Linked DNA regions of Homo sapiens: all the other regions are linked to region 4. The links are contacts of gene promoters, found by promoter capture Hi-C in human tissues and cell types (Jung and others, 2019). All regions are on one chromosome and are shown on one strand. The core of a region is centred on a gene start or on the middle of the fragment in contact, and the rest is flanking DNA. Distances in the headings are between cores, read along the strand shown. Region 1 has its middle 8.0 kb from the start of MIR3074. Region 2 overlaps NCBP1 (nuclear cap binding protein subunit 1). Region 3 overlaps PTCH1 (patched 1). Region 4 holds the start of CDC14B (cell division cycle 14B).

What was found. Contacts are between HindIII fragments. The study calls those that stand out against the background at their distance.
Region 1: a contact is called between a fragment that was not itself captured here and the fragment with the promoter of CDC14B in region 4, in 1 of the 25 tissues and cell types used here (dorsolateral prefrontal cortex).
Region 2: a contact is called between a fragment that was not itself captured here and the fragment with the promoter of CDC14B in region 4, in 1 of the 25 tissues and cell types used here (spleen).
Region 3: a contact is called between a fragment that was not itself captured here and the fragment with the promoter of CDC14B in region 4, in 1 of the 25 tissues and cell types used here (dorsolateral prefrontal cortex).

What each region holds. Positions count from the first base shown.
Region 1 is chr9:95,090,753-95,097,384 of GRCh38, forward strand. It overlaps a transcript of AOPEP not described here. Among named protein-coding and RNA genes, the nearest start is that of MIR3074, 8.0 kb to the left of the region's middle. RefSeq lists enhancers at 1-700, 701-1,450. The HindIII fragment of the contact is 4,225 bases long and covers 2,499-6,632 here.
Region 2 is chr9:97,633,919-97,640,340 of GRCh38, forward strand. All of the region lies in intron 1 of NCBP1 (nuclear cap binding protein subunit 1), which reads left to right. Among named protein-coding and RNA genes, the nearest start is that of NCBP1, 3.3 kb to the left of the region's middle. RefSeq lists enhancers at 1-763, 321-400. The HindIII fragment of the contact is 3,183 bases long and covers 2,901-6,083 here.
Region 3 is chr9:95,498,423-95,505,071 of GRCh38, forward strand. The region is part of intron 2 of PTCH1 (patched 1); the gene reads right to left. Among named protein-coding and RNA genes, the nearest start is that of PTCH1, 7.5 kb to the right of the region's middle. The HindIII fragment of the contact is 6,964 bases long and covers 1,432-6,649 here.
Region 4 is chr9:96,618,408-96,624,508 of GRCh38, forward strand. CDC14B (cell division cycle 14B) reads right to left here and starts at 1,436. Exons shown (of 14, transcript NM_033331.4): 1 at 812-1,436. The coding sequence starts at 971. RefSeq lists an enhancer at 587-1,087. The HindIII fragment of the contact is 32,033 bases long and covers 1-6,101 here.

The DNA of each region.
Region 1 (6,632 bases), core at 3,361-5,860, 1.5 Mb before region 4:
GGTGAGGGAGGATACAGGAAAGAAACACCAGGGAAGACGGTCAGGTCCCAGCTCAGCTTCCTTTGAGGATTAAAGGATTTTAAAGCATTTATGTTTATTGGAATTTCAAACCAAAATACTGAAATAATAGCCTCCATGCTAGGCAAGGTGACCTTGCCTGCAGCATGGAGGGAGGCCAGCCACACCCAAGACAGCCCTGACGGAAAACCTGCCCTCAATGACAAAGGGGTCCAGGGAGGCTGCGGCTTCCCTCCACCTCGATTCAGCCTGCAACAGCCGGTGGCCGGGCCTGGGGGAGGCCGAGGGGAGGGACCTGTGCCGCAGTGACCTCACCAAAGGCAGCTGTGACCCACAGAGCAGCTGAAAGCAAGGCCAAGGGCCGCTTTCAAGGGACAGTTTGTTTAGAGTTTCAAGTTCTAGACCAAGCACGTCCTTGTTCTATAGATGGGGCCAGTGGAGGACTTGTGTGGGTCATGGGTGGGGGTGAGGGGAGGTGCTGGCAGGGAAGGAGGGCTCCTTGGCAAGGCAGTCCCACCCGGCAAGGGGCCACAGTCTGTCCTGGGAGGCTCCTTCCAAGCAGAACTCTGGGTGCGCAGGGCCCACCACACCCCATTCCCCAGAATAAGCGGGGTGCTGCCTGGCACTTTGTCAGGGGTTCACATTAAAGTGTGGTGGCTCTTTGGTTAGTTGGTGCCCTTGGGCTGAGCCACTGCAGGCTCACTCTGTGCAGGGCCCAGCCATGACAGTCACTGTATAGGGGCACGGAGACGGTGGCCACCCAAGAGGTTTGGGGGAGCTGGAGGTTGAAAGGGCTGCCTGGACCTCCCAGGGTCGTTCCCAGCACCCGCGGGACAGTGACCTTGGCCTTGCTGCTTGGGCTCTGGAGATTTACAAGGTGGAAGTGAGGAGAGGCCAGTTGTGACTATTCAGTGGCAGGGTTTTATAGATCTCTTCCCACCCTCCCTGCTGTCTGGGAGACTGATCACCCGATAGGCATTCCTGTTCCAGTCGGATAACTAGACGGTGTGAGAAAGGCCGGCAGCCGAGCCTGGGGTGGAAGGAAACCACCGTAAAGCCACAGATGTCCCAAGACCAACTTGGCACGTGTGCATGTGCGCACCCCACCCCAGCAGCCCCCATGGGAGGCCCAGCCTGAGAAGCCACTCTTGGGGCTGGGGGTGGGAAAAGGGGGTTGATGCCCCGTGGTTCTCACATAGATCCAGAAGAGAAGAAAGGCTGAGAGCTTCGGTCACCAGGCTGTGGCCTGAGAGAGTTGCTGATGGCACCAAAAGCCTGTTGAAGGCTGTGTGTGTGTGTGTGTGTGTGTGTGCACACACACACACACTAGTAGGGAGAGGCAGTGCAGGGCTAAATGCAGAAATGCAGAGAAAGACCTCTGACCACACAGTTCTGTCTAGTCCCAACAGCTTACAAGGAACCAGACCGGTCCCTGCGGTGTTTGTTGAGATAAAACAAGGTCAGGGTTTGGCTTCTCAGCCCCAGGACTTAAAGGGGGTGGGCCCAGGGGGAGCTGCTGTAAAGACCAGAGCCTCCCACCCCCGCCTGGGCCCACCCAGCATCTGGCTGCTCTGCCACCCCTACCTGACCCTGGCAGTCGCTGAGTGGGGCCTGGGGGCGGGCCTGGGGCTGCTCCCAGGGGGACTGTCCATTCTGAGTCTCCCACAGGCTCCCCACCTGGGAGAGGAGTGCCCAGCTCTGATCCTGCCTGGGGCCGCCTGCCCAGACAGCTCATCTGTGGCTTTGTCTGGGGCACAGAGGCGACTGGGTGTGCACCCTGTGGTTTCCATTTTCTTAAGCTTTCTTTGTGCTCCTTCTGCCTGTAATTTCTTTCAGCCTGGGCCTTTGTGGAATCTGTCCGCCACTTTAAAGCGCAGCCGAGGAGGTGCTTTTGCCAGCGGGGTGTGGGTGGGGTGCTGAAGCTGCCCATGGTCAGACCCTGACTCACTGCCAAGAGTCCTGAGTTCCAGAAAGTTCCTTTCTGCTCTCATAGTCCTCCCTTGCCACAACGAGGTCTGACAGAACAGAAGTGCGTTTCCTGACGACTGGATCGGACGCTCATGGCGAGCTCTGAAAGGCAGGAGTCAAGGAAGCCCTCTGTGGCTAAGACACCACACTCTTCACCCGTGATCCCTGAGGTTTCTGCATTCTGACCCTATGATTTAAGTCCCCAGGGACTTCAGCTGCAGTTATGTTTAGGGAGGGAGGCTCAGGAAGAACATGAATTACGGCATAACTCAGAGATGAGGCCGGAGTCCGTTTCAGTGATTGCTGATGGAATGGAACAAGTGTGCATTTATGTTGGGTTGTAAAGAAAACACAGATAATTTATGGGGAAGGAGCTATAGTTTGATGATTGTATCTGCTTTACTAAGTTAAAAGCGTGGAGGAAGTGACTGCAGAAACTTGGTTTTAGCACAGCTGAGGCAGAGGACTTGCGTACAGGAGGAAAGCCATGATGAGCACAGGGCCCTGGCAGATGGAGGATGGGTCTTTGGAAAGCTGGGTCATGGCCCAACAAATGTCAGGGCACATGCGTCCAGTCATAGTAAGTAGACTTTTTCTAGAAAATTCTGTCCAATGGTAGAACATAAGTCCTGTGAATAAGAAACAAAAGCACCACCACGGTGACTACGGTGCAAGGATCAGAGATGGCGCTGTCTCCTTTTAAAGTTACAGATGGTGCCTGGCCTCCTTCCCTTCAGGGCAGCGTTTAACGGCAGCCCTCTCTTAGAGCAAACAAAGAGTCTTCCTTTGCATACTTGATAACAACTTATTTTTCTCATAGATCACACATGCAAACAAATATAGGTAATATGTAAACAAAAAGTAAGTTTTCTCTGCCTTTTCAGCTAGTCTCTTCCCCAAATCACTATAATGAAGTTGATTACCGTCTCCACCCTGGCGCCGGCAAGCACGTGTGCAGGCCCTGCTTTATACACGGAGGGTGGCACAGTGTTCACACGGGTCTAGATTGGCACGTACATAACGCTCGCTTCTCTGTGTCGATGGCTGCATTGCATGGACGCGCTGTAACTCGAGAGGCAGTGACACCCCACCTTCTGGGGGCTTCGTTCAAGTCCCAGCCCTGCTAGATGGCCTCAGTGTAGCCTTGGGCACATTATTCGGCCTCTCTGTGTTTGCATTTCCTCCTCTGTAAGCTTCAGCTGACTTTGTTGGGTCAGTGTGTGTGAAGTGGACAGCAGGCCCGGGCTCAAGGGTAAGAGTGTGCACTTGCTTGCACGCAGGCTTTTCCTTTTTTTCTCTCGTTCCTCTCTCTCCCCCACCCCTTTCTTGCTCTTCTCCTTTCTCTCCCTTTCCTCCCTCTCTGTTTCCTTTCATTTATATCTTTATGTGAACCTCTGAGTTGCCCCAGTGGTTGTTGGCTGTCGCATCCTGCACACGCACAGGCGCCGGCATATCCACGGGGAAAGCCCTAGATGTGCGCACTAGTGTGGATCCCTGCAGTCTGCAGTGGAGGGAGTGGGGTCAGGAGAACTGGGTGTCTGCTCCTTGGAGAAAGGATATATAATCTTTTTCGATCTTAGTGCTTTTATTACAGCAGAATACACATAAGATTGACCAGTATAACCATGTGTCAGGACCCAGCTCAGCAGCCTCGGTGTCTTCATTGTTGTGCAGCTCACCACGATCCGCCTGCAGAACTTTTTCATCTTCCCCAGTGAAACGGGACCCATTCAACACTCGTGCCCCACTTCCCCTCCCCCAGGTCCCTGGGAAGCACCATGCAGCTTCCTGTCTTTGAGGCTTGCCTGTTTTAGGGAGCTCATATGAGAGGATTCATAAAATCTTTGTCCTTTTATGTCTGGCTGATTTCATTTAACATAAAGTCTTCCAGGTTCCTCCATACTGTGGCGTGCTCAGGATCTCTGCCTCTTTTTTCTTTTTTCTTTGAGACAGAGTCTCACTCTGCTGCCCAAGTGGAGTGCAGTGGCACGATCTTGGCTCACTGCAGCCTCTGCCTCCTGGGTTCAAGCAATTCTCCTGCCTCAGCCTCCCGAGTAGCTGGGATTACAGGTGTGCGCCACCATGCCCAGCTAATTTTTGTATTTTCAGTAGAGACGGGGTTTCACCATGTTGGCCAGGCTGGTCTTGAACTCCTGACCTCGTGATCTGCCTGCCTGGGCCTCCCAAAGTGTAGGATCTCTGCCTTCTAAGGCTGAGGACCATCCTGCCATACACACAGACCACGTTTCCTTTCTGCACTGGCTTGGCTGCTGGCGGATGCAGCTGTCTGCCTCTTGGCTGTCCAGGAGAGTGCTGCCAGGAACATGGCGTCCAGGATTTCCTCAGCTGTTACTTTGCATTCTTTTGGGTAAACATCTAGAGGCAGAATGGATAGATCAGAGTTCTAGGTTACCATACTGTTTCCAGAGTCAATTTTCTATTTTGATTTTTTTCACCCTATCTTACGGTGCTGATAAATTTGGATGTTTGACAGGCTGTCCTCCGAAAAGGTGGTACCAGTTTCCTGTCCCTTCCTCTGCCTGTTCCGCACTCTGTCATCAGCATGGGGAGCATCAGCCTTGAGTGTTTCCCAAGCTGCCGTGGAGATGGTTGGGAGCACCTGGGCTTCTGCCACGCTGTGGAAAAGCCCCTGCCGTCCCGTTCCCTGTGTCGTGTGTGTCCCTGCCCGTGCGTTTCGAGCTGGCAGCTGTTTCCTTACTGATGTGTAGAAGAGCTTTAGAAGTTAGGAAATTCGCTTTTTTCATGTGCTGCAAATACTTCTTCTTCCCTCAGTTTACCATGTGTATTGAGATACTTTGGTGAGTTTGCTTTTGATTTCTGTATGGCCAGTTTTACCCACCTTTTCTCCTGTGGTTTCTTGCTTTTGCGTTGGGCATGGAAAGGGTTCCCTGTGGCAGACACAGCCAAGGGAGATGCGTGGGGGGTCCCCACGGCCTGGCCTGAAAGGAGGCATGGAAGTCCGCAGGGATGCGCTGGAGCCTTGGGTCCCGCCCCCTCTTCGTGAGATCGGCATCCTCTCAGCTCCCCTTCCTCCCTCCAAAGGACTGGAGAGTCTGCCCTGAGGCAGTGACCTGCACGCAGGGGTGTGGGTGGGCCGGGAGGGAGTGGCCGGGGCTGGACAGGGTGTGACCATCTGCAAACCACTGAGGAACAAAGAAGTTCTAAATGAAAGACCAGAAAATGCTTTCTGCATTTTGGGAGGAGGGAAGCTTCAATTTTATAAGCGAAATCCTTATTTATCTAAGTAAGTAATGCAGCATCTCCCCAGAGTGGCTGCAGCCTCCCTGCCTCTCCGAAGCAGGGGAACTGCTAGAGGCTTCTCAGAACACACAGATCCCAGAACGAGCCATGCTCCAGATGCCGACGCTGGGAAAGGCAGAGGGCTGGGGAGCTTATTCTGTAACAGTTTTACTCCTGATACCATCTTTTCCCCGTTGATGGCAATGTCTTTATCTTATACTAAATTCTGTACATGTACACGTGATTTACTCGGCGGGAGATGATGTCTGAAACCTAGGCAGTGAGTAGCGGGGAGTGACAGAGGGCCAGCTTCCTGGCTCCCCGACGGGCTGGATGTGGAGGTGGGAGAAAGGGAGGGGTCAAGAGTGGCTTCAGAACTCGCCCTGAGTCCCTGGCAGGATGGAATGGCCATCGGCAACATGGGGAGCTGGTGGGTGCGGGAGGTGGGTGGAGCAGGTGGGCCCACCTGGGATGTGGTAAGCAGAGAGGGTCTTCACACCGCCAGTGGTGATGCCCAACAGGCGGCGGGCTCTCCGGGCCGGTGATCCAGGGGCAGGTGTGGTCCCTCTGCCTAGAGATGCCATGTGAAGCCACGGGCAGGACAGGGTCCAGCCTCTAGGTGGAGTCCAAGGGCGCCCACCAGGAGGGGGTCAGGAGAAGAGGAGGAGCATGTGAGCTGGGAGGAGGTCGGCCCATGAGGCCTGAGAGCTGGCCGCTGGCTGCAGCCACGGGGGCCCTTTCAGCCCCACCCATGTTTCCCTTCATGAGAACCTCACACCAAAGTATGTGTCAGTGCGTGGTACGCTTCACTTTCAGAGCTTGCCTGGCTGTTCATGAACGTTTACTGTCCATATGAATGTTGGAATCAGGTTGTCTATTCGCTGTGTCTACAACCGTTAGTGTCTGTGTCTAGGATGTCGTTCCAGAGGGAGAGGCCAGCAGTTACAGCAGTACCCTCGGTTGGAAGGGGATTGGGCAATGTCTGGAGAAAGTTTTGTCACCACTGGTGGAAGGGGTGCACCGGCACCTAGTGGTGGAGGCCAGGATGCTGCCAACACCCTGCAGTGCACAGGACACCCCCACAACAGGGAGGCATCTGGTCCAAAGTGCTCATGGTGCTGCATTTAAGAAACCCAGATTTAGGTGCCTACAAAACATCTTTCTGAAAAGGCTCACCTCTGCCTGTTCTGGTGCTGGCTGCTGGGCTGTTTCATGGGACGCAACCTTCTAAAATGCTCTGGCATAGGCTAAAGTATAGATGCTGTAATGAGCTGGAGACATTTTTATTGTCTCCATTTGCCCAGTGTTTGGCCCCTTCCTGTAGTTGGGTGATGCTTTTGGTGGTATCCAAGGTACCCAATAACGTTAAAGAAGCTGAAGCCAGA
Region 2 (6,422 bases), core at 3,242-5,741, 1.0 Mb after region 4:
AGTGCCTGCGGCCCGGCCACGGAGGCCGCTCCCGGTTGGGAGCCGAGGCTCGGCGTCTTTGGGTGTCCACGGAAGAGACTGGAAGCTCTTCTCCCCGGGAACGTGCGGGGAGCCGCGGAGGGAAAGAGGAGAATATGGTGGCGGTGTGGTCGGGCGGCTTCTAGAAAGCGACTTCTCCCCCGCCCCAGTTCTTTGAGTCAAGGGCCGATCCTCGGGAAAGAAGGCCTGGTGAACCCCATGGGTAGACCCTTGGTCTCTAAGGATGCTTCAGAATTTCGTCCGTAAAACCACGGAGCAGGGAAGCACACCTGTGTCTGTGCTGCCGCCTCTTAGGGACCCACTGGTCCTAGTGTCTCGTTTTAACCTTCAAAGCTGCACCTGAAAAGGGCTCGGAAGAATTCACTGAAGGAAAGGACTGAGAGATCTCATGAGTTGCAGTCTGAACTCTGTTCCGGTAGTGGTTATCCGTTGATTTCACTTCTTTCAAGCTGCAGGGAAAGAATATTGTCTTACCTGCGCCCAAGAGGTCCCTAATAAACAGACACAGGTTACTGCAGATTTTGAACTGGCCGTAAGCGCATTTCCCTTGTGTGAGAGAGAGTGCTAGAAAACTAACTTCAGGCCTCTGAGAGAGTTAGAACAGGGGTTCCCATCTCCGTTTGGATGATTGTGCTCGTGGAGATCAGTGTTGCCTTCATAAAGATGGAATAATTCTAGTTTTAACAACAACAAAAAAAAGATGCTTATATTACACATAAGCCTTACAATCGGTCAAAAACACAAATCCACACACCAAAAAAGTAAAACTTAGAGTAATTCTATTGTTAACATTTTAGTGTATTGTTTTTTGAAGAGAGTGTATAGTAGTGGTTAAGAGATGAGACTTTGGAACCAGAGGGTTTAGGTTCAAAGCCAGACCCTACCATTTACTTGGTGATCTTGTCCAGGTTATGAAATCTCCTTAAACTTTAGTCTGTAATACAGAAGTAATGATATTTATATCTTCTGGTTTTTGTGAAGGTTAAATGAGGTAATACACATCAGCAACAATGATGTTTTATCATTTGCCAACGCTTAAGAGGCGGTAAACGTTAGCAGATGCTGTCAATGTAAGAAAAAAACCCATAACAGACATTTTAAATTGAGTAAATTTTATCTACTAACGTTTGTCTCTCCTTGAGTGTTGTGGCAGTTGAGGTGGAGGCAGAATCGCATGCATTTAGTTTTAATAGTGAAACACCAGATTTCTACGAAGGAATGGCTTGAGAGGATATTCTAGTCCAGCTTTCTATCTGACACCTAAGGGTCTAGAGACTGAGCATAACTAAGATGGAGGGACAGCTGTCAGTTCCCAAACACCAGCAAGAGCGAATCCAGTCCGGGGCTCTCTTCACTACACAGGTATAAATTAAATAACTATGCTGCGTGCTTTGATTTCTAACACGAGGTTTCTTGTGTAACCTCTGTACAAGGCACAGAAAATACAATTCCCTCCCTTTTTTTTTTTTTTCTGAGACGGAGTGTCATTCTTTGTCAGGCTGGAGTGCAGTGGCGCGATCTCGGCTTACTGCAACCTCCGCCTCTCAGGCTCAAGTGATCCTCCCACCTCAGCCTCCTAAGTAACTGGGACCACAGGCGCGGGCCACCACGCCCGGCTAATTTTTTTTTTGTTTTTGTATTTTTTGTAGAGACGGGGTTTCGCCACGTTGCCCAGGCTGATCTTGAACTCCTGAGCTCAGGTGATCCACCCGCCTCGGCCTTCCAAAGTGCCGGGATTACAGATGTGAGCTACTGCGCCCGCCGATAATACAATTTTCATATGCTTTGTAATTGACTAGTCAAAAACTAATATACTTCTCAAGTCATTACTTGGGGGCTGGAGAACTTGAGTCTTTTGTTCTTTTCTTTGTTGTTCTAATGCTTCCTTTTTCTCACTTAGAGGTAATCCCTAAAGAGAGAGGAAATGTCATTGTAGGGCATCCTAGAGAATTGGAATGCTAATATGTAGAAAAATAACTTTTGCTTTGGTTATTGGGAGACTTACATAACTTTCTTGGAGTTGGCTTGTTTTTAACACCAGCTGGCAGCCAAATCACTGTCCATTTGGGTCTTGCCGCGAGAACCTCAGAGTAAATAAGACAAGTAAAACAAAGCATTCATTAAGCAAAGGTTTTTATGGTTGATATTTTAGTGTGGGAGAGGCAGATACAATTCATGTTTGATAATACAGCAAATCTGAAATTTTTGTCAGTTGCCACAATTTGGATAACGATCGCTGGAGTTTACCCTACACAGTGATCTGAATCAGATTATTTTGGATGCTTTCCTTTTAGTTAAAAATCTATTTTTTAAAAAATAAATCTTAGAAGCTTAAGGATTATAGAAGGCTATTTTAAAATAGGGTAGGAATTATTACAGTCAGAATTAAATAGATGCATCTGAGCATTTCTGGACAATTGTCAGCTGCTGTCAGTCACTGCCCTGACTTTCCGTATGCTTGACTCTCTATATATAGAGTGTGTGTATATATATAAACTATAATAGAATGTATTATATATATTTATATATTATATAAATTTATATTTATATATTATAAATTTATATTTATATATTATATAAGTTTGTTTATTATAAGTTTTATATAAATATATACTCTAATATATATTTTACATATAATTATATACTGTATATATAGAAGCAAGCATATGGAAAGTAATACATATATATATATATATATATATATATATATATATATAAAATCATTTATTCAACAAATACTTAACAGTGCCAAGCTCTGTCCTAATTACTTGCCATACAGCAGTGGACAATATAAAGATAGAGCCTCCCCTCTAGAGTAGAGAGAAGACAGTCAAGTAAAGTATAGTGTATCATATAGTGACAGGCGCTATGGAGTGATACCAGGTAAAGAGGGGAGAGATTTCTGTGAGGGAGAAGTTACTATTTTATGTAAGTTGATTAGAGAAGGCTTCGGTGTGAATGGCATTTGAACAAAGACTTGCCGGAGGTAAGGTAGCAGCCATATAGCTGTATGGGGAAAAGCTGTGATCCAAAGGTAACCATGGGCACAAAAGCCTGAAGACTATAGGGTTCCTGTCATGTTAACAGAAGAGCAAGGAGGCCAGTGGTGCTGGAGCAGAGTGAGTGAGGGGGAAGTTGTAGGAGATAAGATTAGAGAGATAGCAGAGGGTTGCATCTTATAGGGAGATTATAAAATTATACTTCTGTGTTGAGACTCGACTATCAAAGATTAAGGGGGGTAGGATTAGGAGGCTATACCAATGAAGTTCATGTAGTAGTCCATTTATAAACAAGGAAAAGGAAATGCTAAATGGAAAGTAATGTGTATGGATACTAGTCCAGTGCTAAATCTTAACTAATTGCTTAGACTTGCTTTAAAAATGTCTCTGAAGCTTTTTAGTTACTATGGGATATGCAGTCCATTGTTTGTTCTTTTAAGAAAGTATTTAGATTGTTCAAAATCTTAGCTAGAAACAATACGAATACAATTTTGGGAATTTGGGCAATTTACAAAAATTTCAGATTTGCTGTATTAGCCCCATTTAAGCTTCTTAGAATTAGGTCCTTGTCTTTTGGACTGTGGCTGATTTTTTTACTTAACTAAAGAAAAAAATAGAAGTGAAAGGATTTGTTATTTTGAGAGAGTATAGTTTATTTCAGAAGTGATGGTTGCCTGTTTTAAGTCTGCGGGCTCAAGGCATGTTATCTTTCAAGTTGTTCAATATCAAAATAGATGAGCCAAAAAGAAGGGAACAGTGTGCTTAAGGTTTAAAAACGTAATGTTGAAGTTGTTGGTTTTAGTTACTTTACTTTTCTATTTTACAGGGTTGGTTTTTGTTTTCCATTTTGTGGGTCTAAAATTTCTTGTAAGGCTATAAGATGTACAGTGTACCCGTATAAAATTAGGATTGACTTATAGAGGGGAAATTTATTTGGTTTATTAAGATCCTTTCAGATGGATTTTATACCTGCTTCTCTATACTAGCCAAGTCTGTCTGAGTGAAGTGGTAATGTTATCTTTAATTTACATTTTAAAACTTTTACATAGTTAAATTTTAATAAAAAATCTGTTCTTGCCTTGGGAACTACCATAGATACGTTTTCTTCAGGGTACATTGAGCGAATTCCCCAAATTGTATTCGTATTGTTTTATTTCATTTCCCTGTTCCCTTACCCAGGTTGTCTTATGAGTTCAATATCATGTTTCTGTTCGTAAGTTCAGATTTTGTCTGTAGTCTTCACCCCTTTATAGTCTCTCAACTATCAGGTGAAAGTGGAACATTTCTTACCTCTTAATACTTTCTGCCTCCTCCCATTCTCCAGACAAATATTGTCCTTTAATATAGCCAAAATGAACAAAGGGTTTGCAGTTCAGAGATGTGACTATGTACATGTATTTTCTAGTTGTTTCTCAGAAATCATACCTTCTCTTCCCACAGCACTATTTTCCCCTTTTCAAGCTTATAAGAGGGCCTAGGAGGGTTGCTTTAAAGGCTGTGGTATGATTCCAAACTGGAACAAGCCAGCTGGAAAGTTAAGTTAGGAAGACTGTAGAGGTGGAATAAAGGGTTGGCAAAATAGATGAGCCAGAAAGAAGGGAACAGTGTGCTTAAGGTTTAAAAAACAGCAACAAAAAATAACTGCTCTCATTCAGCTAGTTTTTCAGCATCTGCATTCTCCCAACCTCACTGAAATTTGGTTCTGAGGAGCTCTGCTTTCTAGAATACGGTTTCTTAACATCAGCACTATTGACATTCTTGGCCAGTTATTTGTTTTGGGAGATGCCCTATGCAACGTGAGATATTTAGCAGCATGCCTGGCCCCTACCCACTAGATGCCAGTTGCTTCCCCTAGTTTTGACTACTAAAAATGTCTCCAAGGTTTGCCAGATGACCACTGGGGGCAAAATCTACACCCTGTTGAGAACTACTGCTGTAGAAGAAGGCTATTTGAATGTCCTAGCTGGCAGCTTGCGTAAATATTACATCAATTATGCTTTTTTTCAATAAGTGAATCCTGGAAATGAAAGACCTTTGTGTGAAATTTGGCACTTTGGGTGGTGGAACCTTGATAGGTCCTGTGACTTAGGTTTGATCTATACTTAAGAATCAAGGTCCCTGAACCTCTGTGCCACACATGTCTACAACTTTACACAGGCAGATATCTCCAGGAATAAATACATCTCAGCTCTCATGCTGCATGCGTATTATACTTTTTGTGGCATTATCCTTTCAAAATTATAGTCAGTGGACATTCAGTCAGGTTATCATGGTAATTAATGGGTTGGGAAGTTGACGTACAGAGTGTCTTACCCTGTAACCTTTATAATACCCCCCCTCAGATCCTATGTGGATAGTAATAGATTCGTTTTATTCAGCTTCAGTTCATGTGGTATCTGAAGATCATTTCAGTCATTCAATAGATTTAACATTCCAAGCTTAGAATAGCCAGGTGCTGTGTTTTATGAGAATCACCATACATCATTTTCAAGCCAAGTGTTCCATAGGCAAGTAAGTGATTATGAACTTTGTAACAATAATTCCTTTGGCTGTTCAGATCTGAAGATTGAAGTTATATGTAACTTGCTACTGTGTAACCATATATCCAACTGCAGATTTTCATTATTAATACCGATTCCCTGCACAGTTACAGGCTCTTGCTTTCTTGTCCATATGCCGACCAAATAATTGAATCAATGGAAGTCGAAAATTGGATTGTATTAGACTAGCCAAAGTGTTTAGCAGCAGCATCAGGTTCCATACTTAACACTATTATTTTAATTTTTTAAGCTTTATGTTATACCACAAAAGGACTTAGGTGAGTGTGTTAAGGCTTTAAACAAAGTGGTAAGAGATACAAACAGCAAGGGTCTTAATAGACAGGTGTTTGAGGTTAATTTTTAGCACACCTTCATTCAACTTGAATTGTTGAGCAATCAAAAAGACAGATGCTTGGTAATGATTTTAGAATGGTAGATTTAAAAAACATAGAGATTATTCGAATGATATGGTTTTTAAATAAAGCAGTTATCAGTAATTCAGTTAATAAAAGCTAGTTAAAGCAGGAATTGTAAAACGTGGTCCTTTTTTCCACCAATTTTTTGATATAGTGCTCAGGACTTTTCTTTGAATATACGTATACTGACTGTCGTTCCCATTATTTAGGATAAACTATACCGTTGTGCTGCATCATATGCAGAACTGAAATTGTTAATTGAAGACTTGAGATTAGAGCTTAGAAACATGTGAAGCAAGTGAGAAATCCTAATGTTTTATGCTCCTTTTTCCCATCTTTTGAAGCTTTCCTCTTTATAGCTGATATGACAGCTTTTTTTTCTGATCAAGTCTTTCCAAAGCATTCGACTTGGTTTTGCACCCTTATTT
Region 3 (6,649 bases), core at 3,664-6,163, 1.1 Mb before region 4:
CCAACAATACAGTTTCCCTAACACATGACAGCTGTTTTTCCAGCCATGCTCTAAACCCCAAATGGAACAGTCATATTCCCTCCTGGAGGGACTAAGGATGGGGCGCATCTTCCTGTACACCAGGCTCCTAAAATCCTCCACCACAGCCCAGCAGTTTCTCAATGGCAGTATTCTGCTGTACGGAAGGCATTAGACATTGCAGTGTAAAGGAAAAAAAGTGCCCTAAATCCAATTTAAAGAGAAAAAAAAAATCCAGTGAGTATTATCATAAGCACCCAAATTCAAAGATTAGAAGAGAAAGTAACAGAAGTGTTTATATTTTGATGACCCTGATTATATCTGTGTATTCAAGGAATGTTCCCACTGAGAGAATCCCGCAGAGCTTCCTCCTCCTGCAGGCAGAAGTGCCCTCACCAGCAAGGCCCTCTGGTCTCTGGATGTCAACCAAGACCTCTCGTGAGGATGGAACACATAAAGCTTCAGAGTCGGCCAAAATCTGGATAAGGAATTCCATCGTCTTCAATCTAGCCAAGCTCCATGTGCCCACTGGCTTTGGTGGGAGTTCTAAGCAAGGAAGACCTGAAGTGGGGCACCTGGGAGGGAAAGCCATGGTTTGTGCTCCACTCACTGTCTCAGAAATGCTAGGGAACCCAGTTCTTCCACTGTCCATGCGCCACGGTAAGCACAGGGGACCAAGACTTATTTCCCACTCTCTCTGGCGGTGTGGTATGGGTTGAAGAAACTTGTCAATGGATTTTAAAGTTGCCTCAGCAGTCCATTAAAAAAAGTCATGATTCTTCAACAGGGGAATCACATCTTCTGCCAAGAGCCCATCAAAGAGTGTGGTCTTGGAACCAACCCTAACCAAAATAAGAATGCCAAGGATGCAAATGGCAGCTCTGTATCTAGTATCTCCCACAGCTGGCTTGAAATAATAAATGTTCTCATTCCCTCCTCTTAGGTTGTGATTAGCCAGACTTACTACCATTTCAGAGTTCACACTAGTAACTGCAGAGATCCACTTGGAAGGAAATGACGTGGGCAGGTTAGAGTGGGTGGGCGGGAGAAGGGGCAGGAGGGAAGGGGGCAGGGGAGAGAGGGAGGAGGCAGCAGAGGTTCTGGGAGCCAGCGAGGGGCACAGGAAACATTAATAGTATTATAATAGGATGACACAGCCATGGTTATTATGTGGGGGTGTCTGACATAGCTGAAATTCCCTCAACTTTTTCTCCCCCTAAATAGTGTCAAAAGAGTGCCAGAAGTTAAAATACTACATTTATGCAAAGTGGCTTCTATTAAATCTGGTCCCCTTTACAGTTATTTTATAATATTTCCATATTTGTTTTAAAAGCCAAAAAACCTTTTACAGTGAAACACATCCCCGAGGAGAACTGAACACTCATCAGGGGCTAAATCTGGGCAGATAGCTGGCATGGTGAGGCAGAAGGCGGCCACCAAAGCGCCCCTTTCTCCGCCCAATTGTGACTCTCCCCTACCCCAATACAAGCAGGAGAACAGGGCAGACGAGTTTCAGCTTGCCCGAGTTTCAGCTTGCCCGAGTGGACAGAGCCCAGGGTCACAGGCAGGTCAGCTTTGAAGGAGAAACTCAAATGAAACATAAACATGGCATTGTGGAAACCAGACAAATCTCCCATGGCTTGTCCAGCCAGCATTAATCTCGGCATCAGCTGTGGTGCATAATCTAAACACACGGATCAGGCTGTTCATACATCTGGAAGCTGTCATCTTCTGGAACCTCTGAGCGGCATCCTATGTATCTGAAACACCCCATTACCCAACCTGTCCTCTCAACTTGGTGAAGGGTCAAGAATGGCAGACAGCAAAGAGATAGGGAGGATTCGCAGGGTCAACTGCCCTGTGTAGAAGACACCTGAGGGCTATTTGTTCTTTTTTAAACAATCATTGGTGGCTTCTCATTTCCAATCGTTTTTCTCCAAATATGAAAGAAATATCACAACTGCTTCCACCTAAATGTGCATACCCAGTAGTAGAAACTAATAAATACCTATAAACATATTCTCCCTTCTAAACCATGTATGGGGGTCCAGGGAGCAGAAAGGAGCTGCATTTTTCTTCCTGTCCCTTGTGAAATGCCCCCACAATGGCAACCCCAGAGAAAAGAAACCAGGTGCTCACTGTGGAAGGGCAGTGACAGCAGAATCCATTCTGCCCTTCTGGCTGGGACTGGTCCCTTGCTGTCCCTTGGTTCTGCTCCACAAGGGCTCCTGGGGGGACAAGGGGGAGTGGTTTGTGACAGAAACATCTGGAGGAGAATGAGACCACCAAGGAGTTCACACACTAGCCGGGCTTCTGAAGGAGCTGTTATTTCAATATGCACAAAGGCAGTGGTGTCTTCTATTAAAGCTTTTCAGAAAGTCAACCATGCTAAAAACCTTCAGGCTACTGGGGTTGAGGTGCAACCAGTCTTTCTGCAAATTTAGATACCCCCCACCAAAAGGTACCCAAATATAAATTATTTCTTTCTTCCATGGCCTCTTTCCTCTTTCGACCCATCACGGTGTTTTTCTTTGACATTTAATGTCATTCTAAGAAAAATAGTTATCTGGGTCTATAAATACAGGAATGGGATGGGGGAGTTATCTTAAAGAAGATTAATACTCTTGCATCTCTGCAATGCATTGTAGCCACAACTCCATCATAATAAACGTCTTCCATCTGCACAGCATGAGTCTTCCAATCAAAATCTTTTTATCATCTAAACCAGTGGGTCTCAATCGTGATGATTTGGGACACCCTCTCCCCCAGTGACATCTGGCAATGACTGGAAACATTCTGGTTGTCACAACTGGGAGGGTGCTACTGGCATCTAGTAGGTAGAAACCAGGATGCTGCTAAACATCTTATAGTGCACAGAACAGCCCCCAACAACAGAGGATGATCCAGCCCCAATGTCAATAGTCCTGAGGTTGAGGGACCTTGCTCCAAATTGAAGGAGTGGTGAAACTCAGTTATCTCCTACAACTGATTGCCTGAGTTCAAGAACACTGAAAGCATTAACACTAGCAAGGTACAAACTTGAAAGCACTTACACATACCAAGCATGTATTTTAAAAAACAATTTCTTCTATTTTTCTTAAAAAAAAAAAAAAGTCAAAGTCACAACTTGCCTCCTTCTTCCTTGACGCTGGCCTGCAGCAATGTTAACATCCAAACACCAAAGCAATATGGATTCATTACAAGGCTGCTGCCCTCTGCAGAAAAGGAGGCCAGGAGCTGGGCAAGCTTTTAGAAAAAACAAAAAGCTCAAAGAAATAAATGAATGTTCTATCGCTGGAGAAGCTTGACAAGAAACTTGTTCTGAGGGAGGGCTGCAGTGAGGGGGCTGATATGAAAAGAAATAGATACTGAGGGAGATGGGTTAAAACTGCTTAACAAAAAGGAAATACCAACAAAGAAACAGGCAAGATTAAAAATAACACCAGTCTGTGCCCAGAAAGGTGAGATCCAGGTGAAGCATTCGTGGCTCCAGGGAAAACACTAGAGGCCAACACGTGAGCACACTCGTGAGACAGGGATGGCTAGTAGGAAGAGCTGACAGCCCCCAGCCAAGCAGGGAGACTTCTGTGAAATGGCCCTGAGGGACGAGCCCAGCTTCCAGGCTCCCACCCAACCTCAACGACCCACAAAGGGAGGCTGCCCTCCAGGAGGCCACATTCCTGTTCTCTGAGCCTTTGCCTATGCTGTTCCTTCTGCCCTGAATGCCCCCTACCCTCTCCCCTCCAGCCCCTGTGCCTAGCTCAGGCCTCCACCCTTGAGGCCATCCTGGAAGATGTCCCCGATTTTCCTGCCATCTTGGCACTGCTGTCCTTCATGTTAACTACCCACACACCAGTCCGTGTACCTGCTGAATGTTTGGATGGAGTTCCCCTGAGGGCAGAGACTGTGGCTTTTCACCAACATCTCTCTGGAGAGCTTTCTGCAATGGTGGTGCAGAGTAGGTACTGAGAACATGTGCAGAATGAACGCTTCTATTTTTATACAATGACAATTAGTTTCTCCCCCACCTTGCTGCCATGGTCATGTGTTTCTGCAACAGCAGATGTCCACTACATCAGTCAACATATTCTCTATCAAACCTCATTACTCCGCACATATGTGAAACTGATTTGACAATTTTGATTAGCAAACACTATAACCCTAAAACTCAAGCTGGTATCTTAACATATAATTGACAGTTTATTAAAAGGCAATCATTATATGGACATTTTAACAACAGAATACAATAATTCTTATCACCAATTCCTACACACGCACACACACGCGCATGCACACACACGGACTCTTTCTCATCTAGCATATATTAGTCTGCACATTGTGGCTGATGTATTCTGCCCTCTTTATAAAGCCAACTCTTTATAAAGCCACATTTCCCCAGCATGTTAAACAAAGCATGAAAGTCAATTTGAAGACACAGCCTTTCGAGTGGATCCCTTTAATTTGCTGGCTGTATTAAAAAGATAACATTAACATGCCTTTGGCAGATAGGAGGATATGCAGAATAAGACAATGTGCATACACACACACGCTCCTGTGATTTTAAACCGCAGGAGAAGGAGCTTCTTCCAAACTATCCCTCAGCATCCCTCTCCCCTTAAAATCTCATACTTTCCTCTCTTCTGTTGTTTTCTAACTAGGGCAATATGCTACCTCTATCCATTTCGTTTGTGTAGCAAGCACTCTGTTGATGCCCAGTTCATATAAAAATTCATGTCTAGAACCTTAAGAACAACCTACCAAGAAAGCAGCATCTAACAGATTTCTTTGCTGATAGTGATGAGGAATTTATCTATGAGACTGATGCACAAAATGAACTTAAATGTGGAGCTATTACTCACTTCAATTCACGGACGTCCACTGAGGTATAGGACAGCAGGGAAATCTTACTCCTGAATGCAAATGCTCACACTACTTACTGCTGACGTGAACACTCAGCTCACTCTGTCACAAACAAGATCTCTACACAATCACTTCTGCTTTGAAAATGAAATTAAATCTATATGGCTACTGTTGTATAGTCACCTCTCTAGTTGGGTCTATCTGCATTTATGAAACTGTCGCTTCTTCTCTAGGGGGAGAATCTAGCACAGAATGAATGAATGAATGAATGAATGAGAGATCAAGGACAGGGCAACAGAACAAGTGACTTATGTCATTAGTAGGCAAAGTAGACCTGGAGACAAACAGACAACCCATAGTTTCCCATCTGTAAAATGGGACAATCCTCATCATAAAGACATTACATCCACTATCATGTTATAAAAACAAAATAGGGCCGGGCGCGGTGGCTCACGCCTGTAATCCCAGCACTTTGGGAGGCCGAGGCGGGTGGATCATGAGGTCAGGAGATCGAGACCATCCTGGCTAACAAGGTGAAACCCCGTCTCTACTAAAAATACAAAAAATTAGCCGGGCGCGGTGGCGGGCGCCTGTAGTCCCAGCTACTCGGGAGGCTGAGGCAGGAGAATGGCGTGAACCCAGGAAGTGGAGCTTGCAGTGAGCCGAGATTGCGCCACTGCAGTCCGCAGTCTGGCCTGGGCGACAGAGCGAGACTCCGTCTCAAAAAAAAAAAAAAAAAAAAAAAAAAAAAAAAAAAAAAAAAAGATAATAATAGCTATTTTATTGAATCGTAAGGCATGCGATAATATATAACAAATGCCTGGTACATGGCAGTTGCTCAACAAGTGACAGTATTAGTACTGAGTAAATAACATTTGGCCCAAGACCAGTGAGTCATGCTGAAACTGCCAAAAGTAAGCAAAGTGAGTGTGCCCCTCAGAAGTGTCCTCATCCAGTCCATTGAAAAAGAAAAACTTTACTCCCTCTCACTACACAACTGGCAGCTCCCATAAAACTGCTAGGAAGCACACTGCATCTCCTTCCAGGACTTGAAATGGGTCGTGTTATGCAGAAAGCAAGTTATTTCCAGAAATATGCAATGTTAAGAAAATAAATCACATTCTATCTCCTTCAACATGTCAAAGGTCCACTGAAAACTCTTGCTAAGAACACCACAAAATCACGTTTTGTCATCCTCATCCGATGGCAACAAATACAGGTTGGATCAAGTGGTGGATGAGCCGGCCCTCCCTGTGCTCATGCCCTATTCTGTCCAAGAATCTACGGCAGCGGCCCTCCCTGTCCTCATGCCCTATTCTGTCCTAGAATCTACGGCAGCGCCCCTACAGTCTAGCCAATCACATCACTTCCAAACTCCTCAGCTGGGGCCCCTGCTGGTGTCCCGCCCATGCCTAAAATGCCCTCCTTCCCCTACCGTCTCCAGTTCTCTCCCCCCACCCCCTACCACCCTCTTGTAACTTTCACAGCCCATTTCAGCTGTGAACCCAAATGTAGTCCAAATGCATCGAATTCTAATAGTTTTAAATTGTGCAGTGTCGCACACACTTGAGTCTCTTATGGTGCTTAACACAGTGCTAGGGACATCATAGGTGCTCAAGAAACTTGTTGCTAGGAGCATAATAGCTGCTCGATAAAACCCTTCTTTTATCTACCAGTGATACTGAATCGCTGAACTGAGGTAAATTACTCCATGGATTCAATCCAAAGAACGCTTTTGTATTAATTACCAAACTACTTAAGGCAGGAATGT
Region 4 (6,101 bases), core at 186-2,685:
CTAACAGCTGCCAAATTGGATTTATGAGTCTCCAAGAACAGTCGAATCAGCACTAACAGAACAGCTATCGAAGGGCTGCTTGGCTACCTGCTCTGGCTGGCTGGGATTTCTCAAAAGTGACAACCCGGACATTCGTCTTGCCGGCTGGCTCGAATGCCACCAACGTGACACCTTCCTTCTCGAGGCCCCGGCGGGGAGCGGACCCCGGGAGGCGGAGGCGTTCGGGGGGCGCGCTAGGGGGCAGGGCGCGGGAGGCCCAGGAGAGGGGCTCGGGCTTACGCGCCGGACGGGCAACGCGGCGCCCAGGGTCCCAAGGCTACGGAGCAGCGGGGGTTTGGCCAACGCCAAAAAGGGGCAGCTCCCGTGCCAGGCGCGTTCAGCGCGCTCGGGGAATCCTCAGGGGCTGATTCAGAGGTTGTGACTCGCGCGAGGGCCAACCGGGCTCGCAATCCCTGAAGGCGGAATCCACAGGAACTCAGAAGCAGCCCGCGGGGAGGAGCTGCAGGTTCGAGGCGCCGGGCTGACGCCCGCAACTTAGAAAGGTGACCCTCGGTCCATCTTGCTGGTGGAGGAGGGTGCACAAGCTAAAGTTAAAGCTCGCAGCCCACGCAGCTAGAAACTCGGGGCGGGGGGCGCTCCTCAGGAGCCAGGCTCCTAAAGGGGGTGTGGCGGCCGGGGCGTTTAAGGGGGTGGGGGCGAAGGCATTTCGGCCCGGCCCCGGAGGCCCCGGGCAGCCCGGTGGGAGGTGGGCCAGGGCCCCGCGCCGGGTGCGGCCGTCCGGGGCCCTCCGCGCGCCCACTGGCCGGCTCACCGGTGATGTCCAGGTACACGTCGTCCTGGGGGTCCCGGCGGCGCGGGTCTTGCTGCGTGGAGCTGCGGATCTTCTTCACACCCGGCGAGGTCGACGAGCAGCGCCGCGAGCAGGGGGGCGCGGCGGCCCAGCTCGACCGCCGCTCGCTTTTCCGCTTCATGGAGGCGGCCGCGGCCCGTCAGGGGGCCACGACCATGGCCCCGCGCGCCCGCGCGCCCGCCGAGGCTCCCGCCAGCCCCGCGCGGGCGCTCGGGGCGGCGGGCGCAGAGCGGCGCTGCGGGGACGGCGGGCGCCGGCAGAGCCCGGCGGGAGGCGGTCGCGCAGGAGCCGGAGGAGGAGCCCGGCCCACAGCGCCTGCCCCGCTGCCTCCCGCGGCCGCCGCAGGACCGGCGCCGCAGCCCTCGCTACAGCGCCTCCTGCCGCGGCCGGCGCCCCCAGCCCGCCCCCAGGTGCCCGCAGCCGGCTGGCGCGGCCGAGGCGACGGGGCTGCAGCTGGCGGCCGGAGCTGCCCGGGGTAACCGTGCGTGCCCACCGCGGCCGCGGCCGCTGCTGCGTAGGCGCCGGGGCACAGCAGGACGCGGCTCGTGGGGACCCCAGGAGGGCTGTTCCGTGGCGCTTCATTCACAAAAAAGGGCCCACAACCCTCCTCGGGGCCCGCAGACTGAGGCCTTTCATTGGCCAATGCGGCGTGACGTCACGGAGACGGGGCCTTTCTACAGGCAGGTACTCGGTGACGCCATAAAGAAAACTCTGAGGGCTTCCGCCAATCAGAGATAAAGTGTGCTAGCGACCTTCGCCAGCCCCCCAACTTTTGTTTCTTCTGTGTCCTCCAGGTGCCAGCACCCCAGATCCCAACTTTCTTTAGTGAGTCACCAAACATTTACACAGCCCCACCCTAGTAACTTAACTCCAGGTCTTTGGCATATATATATCTTAAAGTATTTCTTGAATTTCCTTGTAATTCGCGCCAAGAGAAAGGGACTTTTGCCATGGCTGCCAGCTTGGAAGAGGATGGCCTGATTACATTACCTGCAGCTATATAGATTTAAAGTAGAGTTGATTTCAGAACTTAAGTAAAACTATTTAAACAACTACGCTCTATTTATCGACCTATGCCCAGCATTCAAACAGGCCAAGCAAGGGCTTCTTAAGGACCCGATGAAACTTCCGTGGAACCACAATATACCGTGGTTGTTTGCACCTCAGAGTTTCTCATCTCGGAATCCAGCGCCCACATTAATTCAGTAAGTTTATACACTCATTGCTGTGTATACTGAGGTGTCGACAGGTCCGATTATATCATGAAGTATTGAAGCAAGGGGCAAGTTTTGTCCTTAAACTTCTTTATCTGGCACACTGTAGGGTCATATCCTCTTCTTTTTCTACTGGATTAAAATAATGCCCTATCTTCCTGGAACTTAACCAAAAACTGTCATTTTGGAGGGCCTTTAAACAAACGTCCATGGTAGCATCTAAAAGGGTGAGAAGATTGGAGGGCAGTGTTAAGATTTCACGGCCCCAAATTTTACAACATCTGCAAGCTGTCCCTATTTTTCACCAGCACTTGAACGTTTTATCCTGCAGTTCCGCAGTTAACTGCCAGCCTGGGGAAAAGAAAGATGAATTTGAGTCAGTCCCCTTGGAAGCCTCTCAGAAATGCAAATTTTCATAGAGCACCTCAGGAAGGGGCTCTTTGACTTCTATTGTTGTGGGCTTTTACCTTAAGCACGGCTAAATAAGGAAGTAGGGGGGCTGTGTCTGAAGCTAGAGATCAGCAACTCTGTAAGCACTTTTTCTTAAGGTTGGTTCTCCTGTTCACTCTTCCTCTGTTTCCCCTAAGGAAATCAGTGAAGGCCTTAAATTTAAAATGATCTACATGTCTGTCTGTAGGGGCAGCAAAGAAGCTAGAGACGTGGGAGGCTGTGCGGCGCTGCGCAAGTAAGTTTTAGAGAGCAGAAACGGTAGGGTCACAGTCCTTTGTTTTGACCTGGAGGAGGAGGAGGAGACCTTTCAGACCGGCCTAGGGGCTCAGCATTGGAAAGCCACCCAGTTTCCCAGACTACCAGGGATTTTAAATGAGTGGGTCTTGTTTTGAATAGATATTACAGGAGAGTGGTCCGTGTGGCTCCCTGGAAGTACAGAGAAACTACCTCCATGACATTATGATCTTTTGAGAGTAATTTGTTTAAATGTCAGGAGGCAGAGGTTGCAGTGAGCCGAGATCGTGCCATTGCACTCCAGCCTGGGTGACAGAGCTAGACTCCGTCTCAGAAAAAAAAAAAAAAAAGTGTCATAAATACAGATAATTATACCATTTAAATATTTTCATACTTTGCAAGTATATAATTTTATGCTTTGTATAGTAGGAACAGACAAAGTATAGGACTACACTTTGTAATTACGCGAAAGTATCTTCCCTTCTTGTGAATAGGAAGTCTGTGTGCTGAGTATACACATTAAAGTTTTAAACCCTATTTATATTTTGTTTTTAGGTCATGTTTAGATAGAGGCAGAAAAGTGCTGTTTCCTAGCTGATACTTGTTTTGTGTGTGTGGCACTGCTCTTGAACTGTTTGACTCCTCCCCCTCTTTGATAAGTTGACTCCTGGGCTCTGAGAATTTGGCCACAGGAAATGTATTTTAGTTTGCTTCCCTGGTTAGTTTGTTGTTCATTGCTTGACGACTCATCATAGAATTTTAGAGCTTGAAAGCTCCTTAGACAATATTTGGTCCAAGGCTATCCTTTCACAGTGAGGACACGGGGACCCAGATGAGTGGCAGTGGCCAGGCTGGGGTGGGAACCAAAACTCTCTAGGATCTGGCTTGTCTTTTCCTGAACTGTGGCGCTTAGGGAACAGATGCGTCTGGTTGATTCTCAACATTATGGCAGCACAATGAAAAGGAAAAAAAAAAAAAAAAGGAGGGATTCTCTAAAATATTCCTATCTTTCCTAGGTAAATTTACCCTGAAATGAAAACAACTGTGGAACATTTTCTTTTTTTTTCTTTTCTTTTCTTTTTTTTGAGACGAAGTCTCGCTCTGTCGCCCAGACTGGAGTGCAGTGGCGCGATCTCGGCTCACTGCAAGCTCCGCCTCCCGGGTTCACGCCATTCTCCTGCCTCAGCCTCCCAAGTAGCTGGGACTACAGGCGCCTGCCACCACGCCCGGCTAATTTTTTGTATTTTTAGTAGAGACGAGGTTTCACCGTGTTAGCCAGGATAGTTTCGATCTCCTACCTTGTGATCCGCCCTCCTCGGCCTCCCAAAGTGCTGGGATTACAGGCATGAGCCACCGCGCCCGGCGGAACATTTTCTTATATGTATATTCCAGATAGAGCATATTCTGAAAATGTGAAATCTTACGCTAAAATCAGTAGCAACTGGTTGATAGAGACGTGATATGAATTTCAAATAATGTAAGTTTCAGAATCCGTGAATTACAATTTTAATTATGTGAAGATAAATAAGTTGTACAAAGTCAATTTCCATAAGTTGGTTAATTTCATAAAAAGTTAAATTTGATAAATATGGTACGTTCCATAAGAGGTTAAATTTCCATAAAACTAGAGGGCTTAGGTGGCAGTCATATGGGAAAACGGGCACACACTGAAGTCTTCACTTTCATATATAAAAAGAGTTGGTTTTGGCCGGGCGTGGTGGCTCACATCTGTAATCCCCGCACTTTGGGAGGCTGAGGCGGGCAGATCACCTGAGGTCAGGAGTTCAAGACCAGCCTGGTCAACATGGGGAAACCCTGTCTCTATTAAAAATACAAAAATAAGCTGGGCGTGGTGACACGTGCCTGTAATCCCAGCTACTTGGGAGGCTGAGGCAGGAGAATTGCTCCAACCTGGGAAGCGGAGGTTGCAGTGAGCCAAGATCACGCCACTGCCCTCCATCCTGGGCCACAGAGCAAGACTCCGTCTCAAACAAACAAACAAACAAAAAAAGAGTTGGTTTTGTTTCATTGGCTATCCTGGCAATCCCAACATTAATCTGAAGTCTGCCATGTTCATGCCCCTTAAGATGAAAATCTTTTAGAACCATAAAAATGGAAGGAATGAATGTTTGTTGAGCTACCAGCAAATACTAGACATGCTAGGGGCTTCATACTCATGCCCTGTTCCGTGGTATTCTCATTTGAGAGGTCATGGCAGTTACCCTAGGTCACTAAATGAGTTTGGTTTGGAAACCCAGGATACAGAACCACACGTGGCTCGAGTACTGAGGGGCTGGCATCATTCTTCATTGACAAGAGCAGGATCTAAAGGGATCCTGCCTTGCAGGTGGGCTTCTGAAATTAAATAACCTGTATAGTTGTGTAAAATGTCAGAAACTTGGATGAACGCCTTTGGATCTCAGACCACACCGTAATATTGTAGGTTTTTAAAACAATATTTCTGCGGTTGATTTGTTTTTTGGTTATATACACTCCTGCTTTAAAAAATAACTACAATCATGCATCACTTAACGATGGGGATGCTTCTAAGAAATGTGTCATTAGGTTATTTCATCATTGTACAAATATTGTAGAGTGTACTTACACAAACCTAGATGGTATGGTCTACTACATACCTAGGCTGTATGGTAGAGCCAATTTCTCCTAGGCTACAAACAGGTACAGCATGTTACTATACTGAATACTGTAGGTGACTGTAACTGGTAAGTATTCATGTATCTAAACATCATCTAAACATAGAAAAGTTACAGCAAAAATATGGTATTAAAACCTTATGGGACCACTGTCCTGTATGTGGTCTGTTGAATAAAACATTGCTTTGTGGTACATGACTGTAAATAAAATAAATAATAATAATGAAATGCCAGGGGGCAGGGGTAGGGGACGATGAGAATTCTGGTTATTTTAAGTCTTGTGTTCAGAGTATGACTGAAGATGCCTTTACCTGAAAGCCACAGAGGTCTGAGCCTCAAGGGACTGAATGATACCCAAATCTTCCTCAAGAATTACCTTTTTTTTTTTTTTTTTTTTGAGATGGAGTCTTACTCTGTCCCTCAGGCTGGAGTGCAGTGGCACGATCTCATGAGCCACCACGCCCAGCTTGCGTTACTTTTAAAAGACGCTGATAAATTAGCGGGGCGTGGTGGCACGTGACTGTAGTCCCAGCTACTCGGGAGGCCGAGACAGGAGAATCGCTTGAACCCGGGAGGCAGAGGTTGGAGTGAGCAGAGATCGCGCCATTGCACTCCAGCGAGATTCTGTGTCAAAAAAAAAAAAGAAAAAAGAAAAAAAAGAAAAAGAAAGATGCTGACATGCATTCTACATACTGTCAG